Linked DNA regions of Homo sapiens: all the other regions are linked to region 1. The links are contacts of gene promoters, found by promoter capture Hi-C in blood cells and fetal thymus (Javierre and others, 2016). All regions are on one chromosome and are shown on one strand. The core of a region is centred on a gene start or on the middle of the fragment in contact, and the rest is flanking DNA. Distances in the headings are between cores, read along the strand shown. Region 1 holds the start of STUM (stum, mechanosensory transduction mediator homolog). Region 2 has its middle 75 kb from the start of LINC01641. Region 3 has its middle 58 kb from the start of LINC01641.

What was found. The method cuts DNA at HindIII sites, captures the fragments that hold promoters and counts their contacts. A CHiCAGO score of 5 or more calls a contact.
Region 2: a contact is called between a fragment that was not itself captured here and the fragment with the promoter of STUM in region 1, in 1 of 17 cell types (erythroblasts). The highest score is 5.6, in erythroblasts.
Region 3: a contact is called between a fragment that was not itself captured here and the fragment with the promoter of STUM in region 1, in 3 of 17 cell types (M2 macrophages, M0 macrophages and endothelial precursors). The highest score is 7.0, in M2 macrophages.

The regions. Positions count from the first base shown.
Region 1 is chr1:226,546,196-226,550,850 of GRCh38, reverse strand. STUM (stum, mechanosensory transduction mediator homolog) reads right to left here and starts at 2,087. Exons shown (of 4, transcript NM_001003665.4): 1 at 1,745-2,087. The coding sequence starts at 1,946. RefSeq lists a silencer at 2,809-3,103. The HindIII fragment of the contact is 11,252 bases long and covers 1-3,544 here.
Region 2 is chr1:227,466,308-227,470,962 of GRCh38, reverse strand. No RefSeq gene overlaps it. Among named protein-coding and RNA genes, the nearest start is that of LINC01641, 75 kb to the right of the region's middle. The HindIII fragment of the contact is 1,445 bases long and covers 2,015-3,459 here.
Region 3 is chr1:227,449,270-227,453,924 of GRCh38, reverse strand. No RefSeq gene overlaps it. Among named protein-coding and RNA genes, the nearest start is that of LINC01641, 58 kb to the right of the region's middle. The HindIII fragment of the contact is 5,874 bases long and covers 1-4,655 here.

The DNA of each region.
Region 1 (4,655 bases), core at 838-3,337:
GGACGGTGCCCTGCAGCCGATGCTGTCAATGCAGCAGGGCTAAGGCTGGGAAAGGCACCTAGTGAAGGGAGACCAGGGAGGGTACACACAGGTACATGCGTGGGCAGCTGCTGTCTCCTGGGGCTGGTCTCCCACAAGGTGGTTTCCTCGTGCAGCAGTGACTTGGTGCAGCCCCTCTCACCTGGCACCAATGCATTTGTTTCCTCAAAAGACCATAGGGTGGCGTTTACCTCACCACTTAAAAAAAAAAAAAAAGGTGGATCAAGATGCATGCTGGCTCAGGAGGATCTTCATATCCGCCAGAGGGAGGGGCAGGCAGTCTCTTTTTACTCCAGCAGGTGAGAATTTCTGATAAAACTAGATTAACACCAGCTGGCCTCCTTGCAGTGTCTAAATGTGCAAAGAGAGCTGATCTGATGACACCAGCCAGGGGGACAGGCTGCTGGAGGCACCCCAGAAGAGAGAAGCCCAACTAAAGGCCACCTAACTTACTGCTCAGATAGGCTGCTCTGGCCGCAGCAGCCCCTTAGGGTAGAAAGACAAGTAAGCTCGGAGGGGAAAGTGAACGGGTCCTGCGTGGGTGGCTGTGGCCTTGGCTGTCACCGCAGCAGAGGCCCCTGCTAAGCAGGCGAAGAGCGAGGAGACCGTGAGAAAGGCCAAAGTCAAACTGAAAACCCCTTCCAGCTGGCCTCTGCTCTTGGGAACTTGGAACCATACGTTGGCAACAGGCTCGCCGACAGGGGCACGCTTTCTCCCGGAGAGGGCACTGGGGCGCCTGGTTCTTCGGGCGGGCACGGGAGAGGGGGGCACCTCCCAGCACGCAGGAGCAGCCAGTGCCAAGCTGGAGGAGGGGAGGGGCGTGCAGGCAGAGACCTGGGGGTGGAGTTAAGGGAGGGAGGGTCAGGAAAACTTCTCATTCCCTGCCTCCATTCACCCTCCTGCACCATCTCTGTAAGGGGCCTCTGCTTTAAAACGTGGGACATAGATGCCACCAGAACCCCTGCCGGCTGCCGGAGTCCTGCACAGAATTACATCGGCGCACTCTCTACTTCTCAGGAACAGAAGGGATCCGAGGGAGCTATGGGTTCATCTCTGGCCACATGCATCCAAACTAATAAAATCATCCCCCATCCCCCTGGCGCCCTGCGGGGTGCTGGCGGAAGTGCAGGTACCCCTGAATGAGGCGGAGGAGACTCTGGCTAGAGTTCTCGTCCCCACGCGGTCCGCACTCCGCGAACCAAAGGGGGCTGCAGGTATATCTAGCCCGGCTCGTCCTCTTTCCCCGGCTCAGCTGACTTCGACGCCCGGGAGTTTGATCCTCGCCGCCGAGGCCCTAGAGCTCATTCTGATCCGACCCCATTCCTCTCGGGGAAGTGGGCTCGCGGACGGATGCACACGACGGAGAGAAGGAGCAGAAATCGGGGCGCCGGGACGGGAGCCCTACTCCGAAGCCGGCAGAGCCATTCCGGCCGCCGCTGCGGGCTCCAACATTGGCCGCAAAGTTTCCGGCTCTTTGGGGCCCCGCCTGCGGGTCGGAGACCCCAGCGCAGCCTCTCCCCTCTGGGGTGCACACTCCACGCGCTTCTGCCACCTGCCCGGGGACGCCAGGAGCGGGCGGTGGCGCGTGGTCGCAGCACTTGGAGCGCGCGGCCCCGCCAGGAGGTCTCCGGCCGCGCCCTTCTCTCCCCCCACGCCCTCCCGCGGCGGGGTGGGGGTCGCAAGGGTCGCGGCAGCCGTGTCTTACCCAGTCCCGGCACGAAAGTGTTGAGGAAGAGGCAGATGACGGCCACGGGGAAGGGCATGTAGGGGATGGCGGCGCGCAGGGGGCCCTTCTTCTCGCGGACCTGCACCACCACCCCGCTGGACGAGGACGCCCCCCGGGGGTCCGCCGCCGCCACCGCCGCCGCCGCCGCCGCCGTCTCGGCGTCTTTGTGCGAGGGCTCCATGGCCGGGCGCGCTCTCAGGCAGCCGGGCAGCACGGCCGGAGCTGGCGCCCAGCGTACGGGAGCAGGAGACTGTCGGCTGCGGGCTCCGGGCTCCGCGCCGAGCTCAGGCGGCCGCCGTGCTCCGTGCGCCGCGCGGCTCGCGGAGACTCCCGCCCTCCGGCGTCCCCACACGCCCGGCGGAGGGGCGGGGAGGGCGGCGCGACACCCGGTGACAGCGCTCTGACGCCCCTCCTCGCCAGGCCCCTTCCCCGCCCCCTCCCCCCAACCAAAACCACCGCTCACAAGGAATGGAAAATCAGGGCGGAGGGAAAGCAGTGGAAGAGGACCGCAAAGGGAGCTGTTTGCCCAGGTGCTGGAAGGGGTGGACACACCTCGCCCTCCCAGACAGGTGAACTAGGAACCTTGACCACGAAGCCCTGCGAACTGGGAGTGTGTGCTTGGCTGACACCGTCGGGAAAGCCTCGAGGCTGAGTCCCCTGATCTAGAGCAAGCCTTTGGCCAGGGACATGGGGACAAGGGACGGACCGCGCGGCGCCTGACACCTAGTCGGCCTTCAGTGCATTGTGATTTAAATGATTTTGTTTGGGGCGAGCGCAGTGGCTCCCGTCTGTATTCCCCACTTTGGGAGGCCAAGGTGGGAGAATTACTTGTGCCCAGGAGTTCGAAACCAGCCTGGGCAACGTAGCGAGACCCCCCCCCCCCCGCCCCAGCTCTATTTTGTAAAAAAAAAAAAAAAAAAAAAAAATCACTTAAAAAATATATAGGAGTGAATTTGTTTCAAGTGTCAGAGAAAAAGCAATCCAGAGATCGGATCGATAATAGAGGAAACAGATTTGCAAACACCAGGCCAGGTCTCCGCAAGACTAGTTAAAAGATGGGACACTTCCCTACACACACGCACCAAAAGCAGAAAGAAATGCGCCTGTTGCAGGCTTGTTGGGAAGCGTTCACCATCCCCTGAACTATACTGGAGGAAACCTGAGCCTTCTGTGAGCCCGACGTGGTGGTTAAAGAGCCAGTGAGGACACAGCGCCGTCTGGCGTTAATAATGGGGCAGTTGGTAGAAGCAACAGCCGGCAGCTTGAGGTCCTGTTTGAATTCGATTTTCTGAATAAGGCTGCTTCGCCTCCGCACCTGGAAAAAGTAAACGGATGAAAGTTACCGCCTCTAACGTTAGGGAGGGGTTAAAGGCTTCGGAATTATCCAGACAGTCAGCAAATCGTCTGAATAATTGGAAGGGTGCAATAGCCTCCCTTCAGGAATAATAGTGATTATTATTATAAACAACCCAGGGTCTCAGAAGAGGCTAAAAGAACATGGGTTATTGTATACTTATACTTATTGTATAAGTCTCTGAATAAAATAATTTTAAAAGCAAATGGCCAGGGGTTAGTGATGATACTGGTGGACACACACATGCGTGTGTACACATACACAGATACACACACACACGAGTCATTAGCTTAGGTTTGGCAGTCAGAAGAACAGGGTTAAAAATTTTAGTCTTTGTTCAGCCACTAAAACCTGTATGGCTTAGAAGAACTCGCTTAGCCTTTTCTGGCCTGGAGTTACTGTGTTGGTTAAAATCATAGCAAGCTTCCATTTAATACACAATTATTGAAGGCCTACTAAGACTTAGATTCCAGGGAGAGAGAAATGAGTAAAATCCAGCCTCTGCCTTCAAGAATCTAAGAAATGAGCTGAGAGATACTGACAACTACAAAGATAGACTTACAGAAACAGTGAGGAATGTTGCAGCTGTGATGTGCTGGAGGTGCTGCGACAACATGGACCTATCTGTGAAGCCAGCTAGCGTGGGGGAGGCCTCGGGGAGGTGTCCCAAAGAAGGCGATACTCAAAGGGACTTGAGCAATGACTACAGTTAACTATTTGCAGATTTGTTTTATTTTCAACAAACACTTATTTACCCAAGCACTCTCTGCCAGGCATCATTCTAAAAACCCTTTACACATTTTAACTCTTTTAATCCTTACCATAACTCTACAAAGTAAGGATTATTTATTACCCCATTTTACAGATGGGGCAATTGAAGCACAGAGAAGTTAAACAGGCTGCACAAAGTCCCCCACTAATCAGTGGTAGAGCTGGCAGCTGAATGCAGGCAATCTGGCTCCAGAATCAATTCTATATAACCAGTATTTTATTCAGAGACCTAGAAAATAACCCACATTCTGTGAATATTCTTTTGCAGAGCACTTGAACTGTCTTAGGGCCAGTCAATCATTCCTCCTGGAGAAAAAGGATTTCAGGGACGTCAGTGGATTTGCATCCCCCAGTTTTCCAGATGATTTGCTGAATATCTTGGATGTCAGAAAGACATCCAGGCAGAGCAACAAAATATACAAAGGCATGGGAGCCCAGGGAAGTAGGGATGATTCCAGGAATTGCAGTGTGGCTGGCACTAGGGCTTGTGTGGGCAGAGACAGGAGATGGATCTGGTGGGGTGGACAGGCATCTAGTACTGAATGGCAAAGGAATTTGGACTTCATCTCGGTGGTGGTGATGCAGAATCACTGGAACATTTTAAGCAGGGGTGTGGCATAAGTGTTCCAGTTACTATCACTGTGTCACAAATTACCCCCAAATTTAGCAGCTTAACACAACCATTTTTTTCTGATCACAAATTCTGTGGTCAGGAGCTTGGACAGAGCACACCAAGATAATTCTTCTTTGCTCCTTGTATCTGGA
Region 2 (4,655 bases), core at 1,488-3,987, 920 kb before region 1:
CTGGAGCAGCATGGACAGAGGGTGCCATGTCCTGAGGCTGCAGAGAGCTGCAAGACCCTGAGCCTGGCCCATGAAATTATTCTTCCCTCCTAGGCCTCCAGGCCTGTGATGTGGGGGGGGCTACCACAAAGGTCTCTGAAATGTCCTGGAGGCATTTTCCCCATTGTCTTTGCTATTAACATTCAGTTAATCTTTACTTACGCAAATTTCTGCAGCCTTGAATTCCTCTCCAGAAAACGGGTTTTCTTTTCTACCACATGGGTAAGCTGCAAATGTTCCAAACTTTTCCACTCTTCTTCTCTTTTAAATGTAAGTTCTAGTTTCAGGTAATTTCTTTGTTTATGAAAATGAATGTAAGCTTTTAGAAGCAGCCAGGCCATATCTTGAATGCTTTGCTTCTTAGAAATTTCTTCCACCAGATACCCTAAATCATCTCTCTCAAGTTCAAAGTTCCACAGATCTCTGTAACAGGGGCACAAAGCCACCAGTCTTTTTGCTAAAGCACAGTAAGAGTGACCTTTACTCCAGTTCCCAATAAGTTCCTCATCTCCATCTGAGACCAGCTCAGCTTGGACTTCACTGTCCATATCACTATCAGTATTGTGGTCAAAACCATTCAACAAGTCTCTATGAAGTTCTAAACCTTCCCTCATCTTTCTATCTTCTTCTGAGCCCTCCAAACTGTTCCAACCTCTGTTTGTTACCCAGTTCCAAAGCTGCTGCCACATTTTCAAGTATCTTTCCAGCAATGCCCCCCTTCTCTGTATTAGTTCTTTCTCACACTGCTATAAAGAACTACCTGAGACTGGGTAATTTATAAAGAAAAGAAGTTTAATTGACCCACAGTTCCACAGGCTGTACAGGAAGCATGGCTCAGTGGCCTCAGGAAACTTACAATTATGGTGGAAAGTGAAGGGAAAGCAAGCATGTCTTGCAGTGGTGAAGCAGGAGAGAGAGAACAAAGGGGGGAAGTGTTGCACACTTTCAAAGCATCAGATATAATAAGAACTCACTATTGTGAGAACAGCAAAGGGGGAATACGCCCCCATGATCCAATCACCTCCCACGAGATCCCTCCCCCAACACTGGGAATTATGCAATCCAACGTGAGATTTGGCTGGGGACACACAGCCAAACCATATAACTGTTTAAATAAAGGCAAGGTAGTAGAAAATGTCTGTGGGACTATCTGAAAAAAGGTTCTTAGGAATATCTCTGTGAAGTGGCTTGGAGAAATCACATTATTCTGAAATGATTCAGAAGAACAAAGTACACTATTTACGTCTGATTTTTTTCTAAGTAACCAAAATAATTCCATTCTTCATTGTAGTAAAACTAAAATGTTTTACATCTAAGTAGGAATTTCTCAGTTTCCAAGTAAACTGATATAAAATTGTCCAAACTAAAGATATTAACAGCAAATTGTTAATGTCCTGCCTCAGTTTCTATGGAAACTTAGGAATTGTAGGCAAATGCTGAAATTGAGGTTTCGCTTATCACTTTATTGAATGCCAGAAAAATAAATTTCAAGAGGCAAATTGAAATGAAAATTTAAGTGTCATGCAAATAAACATAAAATGTTAAATTCTGTGCTCACAAACTATTTTTTTAACTTTTCTGATTTAACACTCCTTATTATTGTTCTATGCTTAAGGCATGATACCTTACCTCTCCTGTCTCCAGCTTCTCTTGTCCAGGAAATTCTCAGCTTCAATTTACAGTGACAAGAGAAAACTCTTTAAAAATTATTAACCTGCTTGATTGGTAAATTTGGGTAATTTTATTACCTCTACTTTTATCCGTATCTGTTGAAATTAATGTATAGACATAAGATGGAGCCAGGCAAGATGGAATATATCAGTAATTCCAGCTACTCAGGAGGCTGAGGCAGGAGGATCACTTGAGCCCTGGCCAGAAGACTGAGGCCAGTATGGGCAACACAGTTAAGACCCCTTTCCCTTTAGAAAAAAAAATGGACAGGTAAATGTTGCCTCTGAGTTGTATAAAATAAGCTTTTAATTGAACTAATCAAGGTGGAGTAAGTTCTAAGAGATAAGTTTACTTTATAGGTAAAACATACAATGTATTCCACAGTTTTAAAGTTTAGGAACTGAATTAGGCATCGCTACCATCTCCATGTCAGTTTCAGGGTACTTACTATAGAACCTTAGTTCTGTTCAGTAGCTGTCTTACATAGTCATTTCAGATCTCAAAGTCTTTGTTTTTTCATCATCAATACAGGGAGAATATACACAGGCCTTATTTGTGTTTGGAAGGGCCAAATAAGATGTACATTAAAATGTGTTGTACATACTAAAAAAAGACATGAAGAGCCTATTTTGGGATCTCATCCAGCACTACCCATCTACCAACTGGTGTGTAAAGTCACTGAGGTTTACCTTACACCACCAAACAGAGCATAAATATTCACAAGTACTTCCATACTTTGTGCATAAAGTTACAATCTATTAACACAATCTATTCGTTCTTTCACTATTATTGAATATTCTGAAAATTGAATATGGTACTTTCCAGTTATAAAGGCACATACATCATGAGCTTTAATTCTTCTTCTTCTTTTTTTTTTTTTTTTTTGAGACGGAGTTTTGCTCTTGTTGCCCAGTTTGGAGTGCAGTGGCGCGATCTCGGCTCACTACAACCTCCACCTCCCAGGTTCAAGTGATTCTCCTGCCTCAGTCTCCTGAGTAGCTGAGATTACAGGCATGCACCACCATGACCAGATAATTTTTTGTATTTTTACTAGTGATGGGGTTTCCTCATGTTGGCCAGGCTGGTCTCAAACTCCTGACCTCAGCTGATCCACCTGCTTTGGCCTCCCAAAGTGCAGTGATTACAGGCGTAAGCCACCATGCTAGGCCTAAGTTTTCTAACTTTTAAAGAAATTAAGAGCCCAATCAAAGTTTAAACAGAAGAGCTATAAGACATTTTCTCTATACTAATGAAATATCTGGCATTTATTAAAACAAATGAGACAACCAGATTTAACTATCTTTATGATACAATGTTTTCTATTTCAAAGAACTTAGTTTTTATTCAAGAACCATATTATTCAAAACCATTTCTACTTAAATTCGTTCTTTTTCTGATGGTAAAATATTAAAAATTTTCTTTCATCTCCCCCCTTTCCATCCCTATCAGAGATTAGAGTTTGAACTCTAACACTCTCATCTTTGAACATAATTCTGTTGACATGAGGAGGGAGCTATGGAAACAAACACTTGAACAGGCAGCATCTGGCATTTTAAACTCCCAAACCTTTACATCACAAATGTAACTCTGAATTTATGTTCCAGCTCTTGAAATTTTTTTACTATGAACCACCCCTCCACTTTTAGAACAAGGAGGAAAATGAAGTCCAGTAAGTCACCAGAGTAGATCTGAAGATATATTTGGGTTAAAGAGGAAATCTTAAAGCAATCAAAACACTGTGGGTAAGCTTTGGGTTTAAAAAACCATCAACTATTCTGCAGCCCTGGCAGTAACATTTTACACCATTCATAATCATTTTAAGCACTTCTCCAATTTTCTTCCCTTCAGTGTTCAAATTATAGTTGGAGGAATAAAGCCATTTCTATCGAGGTGACTTAAAACAACTTATTAAAAACTCCATACGCCAACCTCTATTCTGAATTTAAGCAAGAAATCCCTAAACATTGGGTCTAAATTTTCCCAAGTATCAGCTACCTTAACACATAAGAGAAAGGGAACAATCAGACTCTTACCTGGCTCCTTCATTTAGGTACCATCTAGATAGATAAGGAGAATGGGATGGGTACTCAGAAGTTGGAGTATTTGAGTTCTCATTAAGAAAAGGCAAAGAAGATATGAAGAAAGCTTCGAAAAAGTCTCATAGAATGATAAATTGTAGGGCTCAGACTGATGTCCTTTGGCAGACCAGCTTGGAGCTGGCATTGGGGGACACACAAGTCAGCATGCTTTCCATGGAGTGGTTCTGCTCCTCTTCACCACCATGTCAACCTTTGCTTGCTGCTGCCTGCTCACAGATCTCAGACCTGAAGTAGGACCCCGCTGTCCCCCTGATCCAGCCCAGTTTGGTGCTAGCATTGGGTGACACACAATAGGTCGGCATGGTCCCCATGGTGCACTTCTGCTCTTCTCTACTGCCATATGTTCCTTTGCTCACTGCTGCCTGCTTGCAGATCTCAGACCTGTGGGTAGGGCTCCACTGATCTCCTGTGCCAGACCAGCTTCCACTCTTCTCTGCCACTGCCTGCATTTTTGCTTGCTGCCACCTGCTCATAGATCTCAGCCCTACAATCGGGCTCCACCAGCCCTGTGCAGCAGCCCCACACAGGGCTGGCATTGGGGAAGATGCAAGAGTTCAGCATGTTACCAATGGGGCACCTCCACTCCTCTCCACCACTGCCTGTGCCTTTGTTCAATGCTGCATGCTCATAGATCTCAAACTCATAATAGGGCTCCACTGACCTCCTGCACCAGCTCTATTGGGGGCTGGCAGCATGGGACACGCAAGAGGTCATCATGTTACCCATGTGGCACCTGCACTTCTCTCCACCGTGGCCTGCACCTTTACTCACTGCTGCATGCTTATAGATCTCAGACCCACAATAGGGCTCCACAAATCTCCTGTGCCAGCCCTACTTGGGGCTGGG
Region 3 (4,655 bases), core at 1,214-3,713, 900 kb before region 1:
GGCTCATAATTTCCATAACTTCCCAGCAGGGCAGCTCTTCTCAGCCAAGAGCAATTTTCCTGAAACACAGGAAAAGGAGAGCAGCTGTGATGTGTTAGTGGCTCACACTCACAGCAGCTGGGTATGGGGATCTGGGCAAGGCACCACCGCACCTGCTACAGGATGGTAGCTAAGAGTTCTTTATATATATATATATACACACACACACACATACACATACCGAGACACACACATATATATGTGTATATATATATTTTTGAGACGGAGTCTCGCTCTGTTGCCCAGGCTTGTGTGCAATGGCAGGATCTCAGCTCACTGCAACCTCTGCCTCCCGAGTTCAAATGATTCTCCTGCCTCAGCCTCCCGAGTAGCTGGGGTTACAGGTGCATACCACCACACCTGGCTAATTTTTGTATTGGGGTTTCACCATGTTGGCCAGGCTAGTCTTGAACTCCTGACCTCAAGTGATTTGCCCACCTTGGCCTCCCATAGTGCTGGGATTACAGGTGTGAGCTACCATGCTGGCCTATTATTATTATTTTTGAGACATGGTCTTGCTCTGTCACCCAGGCTGAAGTGCAGTGGCACCATCATGGCTTATGCAGCCTCCACCTCCTGCACTCAAACGATCCTCCCACTTCAGCCTCTTGAGTAGCTGGGACCATAGGTGTGCACCACCACACCTGGCTAATTTTTTGTTGAGACAGGGTTTCACCATGTTCACCAGGCTGGTCTTGAACTCCTGGGCTCAATCAGTTCTCCCACCTCAACCTCCCAAAGTTCTGGGATTACAGGCATGAGCCACTGTGCCCAGCTAAGGGTTCTTCTTTTAAAAATACATATGGTAGGCTGGGTGTGGTGGTTTATGCCTGTAATCCCAGTACTTCGGGAGTCTTAAATGGAGGATCGCTTGAGCCCAGGAGTTAGAGACCAGCCTACGCAATATAGGGAGACTTATCTCTACAAAAAATACAAAAATTAACGGGGTGTAGTGGCCCATGCCTGTAGTCCCAGCTACTCCAGAGACTGAGGTGGGAGGATTGTGTGTAGTAGCCCATGCCTGTAGTCCAAGCTACTCCAGAGGCTAAGGTGGGAGATTGCTTAAGCCCAGAAGGTTGAGGCTGCTGTGGGTTGCGATTGCACAATTGCGCTACAGCCTAGGTGACAGAGCAAGACCTATCTCAAAACGTATATATAAAATAAAATAAATAAAATATGTAAAGGCCAGGTGCAGTGGCTTACACCTGTAATCCCAGTGCTTTGGGAGGCCAAGTGGGGAGGATCACTTGAGGCCAGGAGTTCCAGACCAGCCTCAGCAGTGTAATAAGATGCTCATCTCTACAAAAAATTAGCGGGGTATAATGACTTGCCTATACTTCTAGCCTCTGGGGAGGCTGAGGCAGGAGGATCATGTGAGTCCGGGAGTGCAAGGCTGCAGTGAGCTATGATTGCACCACTGCACTCTAGCTTGGGTGGCAGAGCATGACCCTGTCTCTTTAAAAAAAAAAGGGGGGGGGAGAATTCTGATGATAAAAGAAGGTAAGTTAAAGAATAAGATTAAATGAAGGTAGAGGGGAGTTCTACTGGACATCTTTCCTTCTTTTTTCCCAGCCAATCAGAAGCACTGCACCAAAGTCAGAAATGGAAGTCAGTGAAACAAACAAGCAAGGGGATCCTGTCAGATTATAAAAGGATTACAGCAACATCCCACTTCCAGTGCTGCAAGCATTAGCAGGGTGGCTGTGATGTCTGCTGTCCAGCATACAAGCAATGATGTCTGCACTGAACCCTTCCTGCAGTGGGCTGGGTCTTTGTTTCTGTTTGTGTCTCCTCCAGATCTTGTTTTTCCAGTCCTTCTAGCAATTCTGTGAGGTACCCAATGTCTTTTTGGTGTACTTGTTTTCCATTCTAAATTACTATAATTAGTTTCTGTTGCTTACAACTAAGATCCCTGTAGTATGCCTCATCCTGGCCCCTGCTACATAACCCTCGGCTCCCCTCCACCTGCTGACTGCAGAGGATAGGATGGGCCAAATGCCAGCCGCATTTTTCCTGACCCCAGCCACCAGGCTGCAGCCACAGTGGAGGGCTCCTCAGTCTTCTGGAGCTCTGAGGGCAGGTTGGGGGAAAGGAAGGGCAGGGTTCTGCCTTTAGATCAAAGCACTATGGATTCAGAACATGGGGAGGCTGTGGAGCAAGCCTCGGTCTATCAGAGCAAGCCTCCAGCATGATCCAGGACTGCTCAGGTGAAGATGGACACAGCCAACACATATCCTCTGCAGAAGAGGTGTGACTCACAAGCTCTTCCCCAACCAGCTGCTCATGGAGGAACATGTCAAGAGCTTAGCATTGTCATCCACTGCCTCAGCTTCCTATTGAGGGGCAGCCATGTCCTCGAGCCATGTCCAGACTTCTCACCACACTTCAGACTCCCATCTCCAGCACTACCAAGTACCCACCACCTCTGCAGTCATCCCAACTCATCTTGACCAAGCCCAGCCTCACATTGTTGAGAACAGAAGACTTCAGCAGAGGAAGGGGCCTCCCCGGTGCCTATTTTTCTCAGAATCCGGCTGCAGCAGAGGTCAGAGAGCCCTTTTAGAAAGGGGCATTTTTCTCACTTGCTTTCTTGTATTGTGACATCACCTCTGACATCTGTGCCTTGGGTAATCTGAGGATCATTGCACAATCTTCAGTCCTAAATTTCCATGGAATATGAATTTTCTATGCTTCACCTCTTACATTCCTTGCTTATATATCCCTGGCTCATTCCTACTGGTAAGAGCAAATTTCAGCAAGTTGGTGCACTTAATTCTTCCAGCTATTTCCCATATCCTCACCAATTAGTGCTTACCTGTTTAGCCTCCCAGGACTATTCTGGACTACATTTCAGATGCTTCCAGCCACCTCCTCTTTTAGCAGCTGCTATCCAAGTCTTTGTAGTATTGCTCACCATCTGAGGTTCATGAAATGGAAATTATGAACCAGATGATAATTTATCATGGTTCCTTGGTTGCAAGCAACAGAAACCAACTTCAGCTAATCAAACAAAAGGATAACTTGTTGAAAGGTTATCAGGTAGCTCACAGAGGAGACAGGCTGGAGAGCCAGTCTTGAAATAGAACTGGAACCAACAGAAACTGGCCAACTATTTTGTCTGAGAGTTGCTGAGGAGACAAGTGTCATCCAAGTGTTCATTTCTGATGATGCAAGATCCTGTCTCAGGAGACAGTCTGAGTGCTCCAGCCTAGGTCACGTGCCCATCTCTTGGCTATGAGGAAAAGCCCCTTGATTTACTGTCCTACCAAGAGTCCACACAAGGAGAGAGGGTTAAGTCCACAAATCAGAAATTGGGGTGCTGTATCCAATAAAAGGGAAATGGAGGCTGAGCAATTAAAAAAATAGCCACTACAAGTACCTATGTTGCTGTACGTTCCATCAGCTCACCTCACCGCTGCAGAGACCACACAGGAAAGCTCTCCCACATATCCTGCCTGGCCTGCTCCATAATCATATGGCTTTGACCCCGTTACAGTAGGTAGCTAGTCAGGCATGAGCCCGGCAGATGAGAGCTCCCCCATCGACCCCACCAGGAATATCAGGTGACCATCAGATGATGATCAGGCAGTTGTCACACTGTCTCGCTAAAATAATAACTGGTTGCAGCTGGTTCCAGAGAAAGGCAGTTTCCCAATATGTAGAAACGCCTGAAGCTGGTAATCAGCAGCTTCCCGATAAGATCTCGGGAGTTGTACGAGTGGGCTCATGCATGTGAACTGAGGCAAAATGGCAGAGTTTAACTGGTATATGTTCTCCTAGAGACATTCCACTGGTAAGGGAAGAATGCTTCAAGTGAGCATGCAGACAACTCCAGTAAACACACTGTACATGCTCCCCTCCCAAGTGCTAGCAGGCCACTGTGCCTGTGGACAGCCCACCCCAAGGGAGGAATCAGTGGAGAAGGGACACAAGACGCCAGAAGCATGCGAATGTATAAAACCCCAAGTCAAAAGGTCAAACCACACACTTGTCTTTCAGATTGCCCACTTGGCCCTCTTCCAAGTGTACTTTCCTTCTTTTTGTTTCTGCTTTAGAGCTTTTTTTTTTTTGAGCCAGAGTCTCCCTCTGTCACCCAGGCTGGAGTGCAGTGGCACGATCTCAGCTCACTGCAACCTCTGCCTCCCGGGTTCAAGCGATTCTCCTGCTTCAGCCTCCTGAGTAGCTGGAATTACAGGCACCCACAACCATGCCCAGCTAATTTTTGTATTTTTAGTAGAGACAGGGTTTCACCATGTTGGCCAGGCTGGTCTCGAACCCCTGACCTCAGGCGATCTACCCACCTTGGCCTCCCAAAGTGCTGGGATTACAGGCGTGAGCCACTGCTCCTGGCCTTTGCTCTAGAGCTTTTTAATAAACTTTCACTCCTGCTCTAAAACTTGCCTCAGTCTCTCCTTCTGCCTTCTGCCCGTCAGTCAAATTCTTTCTTCTGAGGAGGCAAGAATTGAAGTTGCTGCAGACCTGTATGAATTTGTCGCCAGTAACTCGGATACCCAACACCGGTAACAACCCCAGCTGCTTTTACATCAAGTTCCACTGACCCTGGAAGCTGACCAGTAATGGTGCTCAACAGGCTGCTAGAAGAGTCTCCAGGGTGC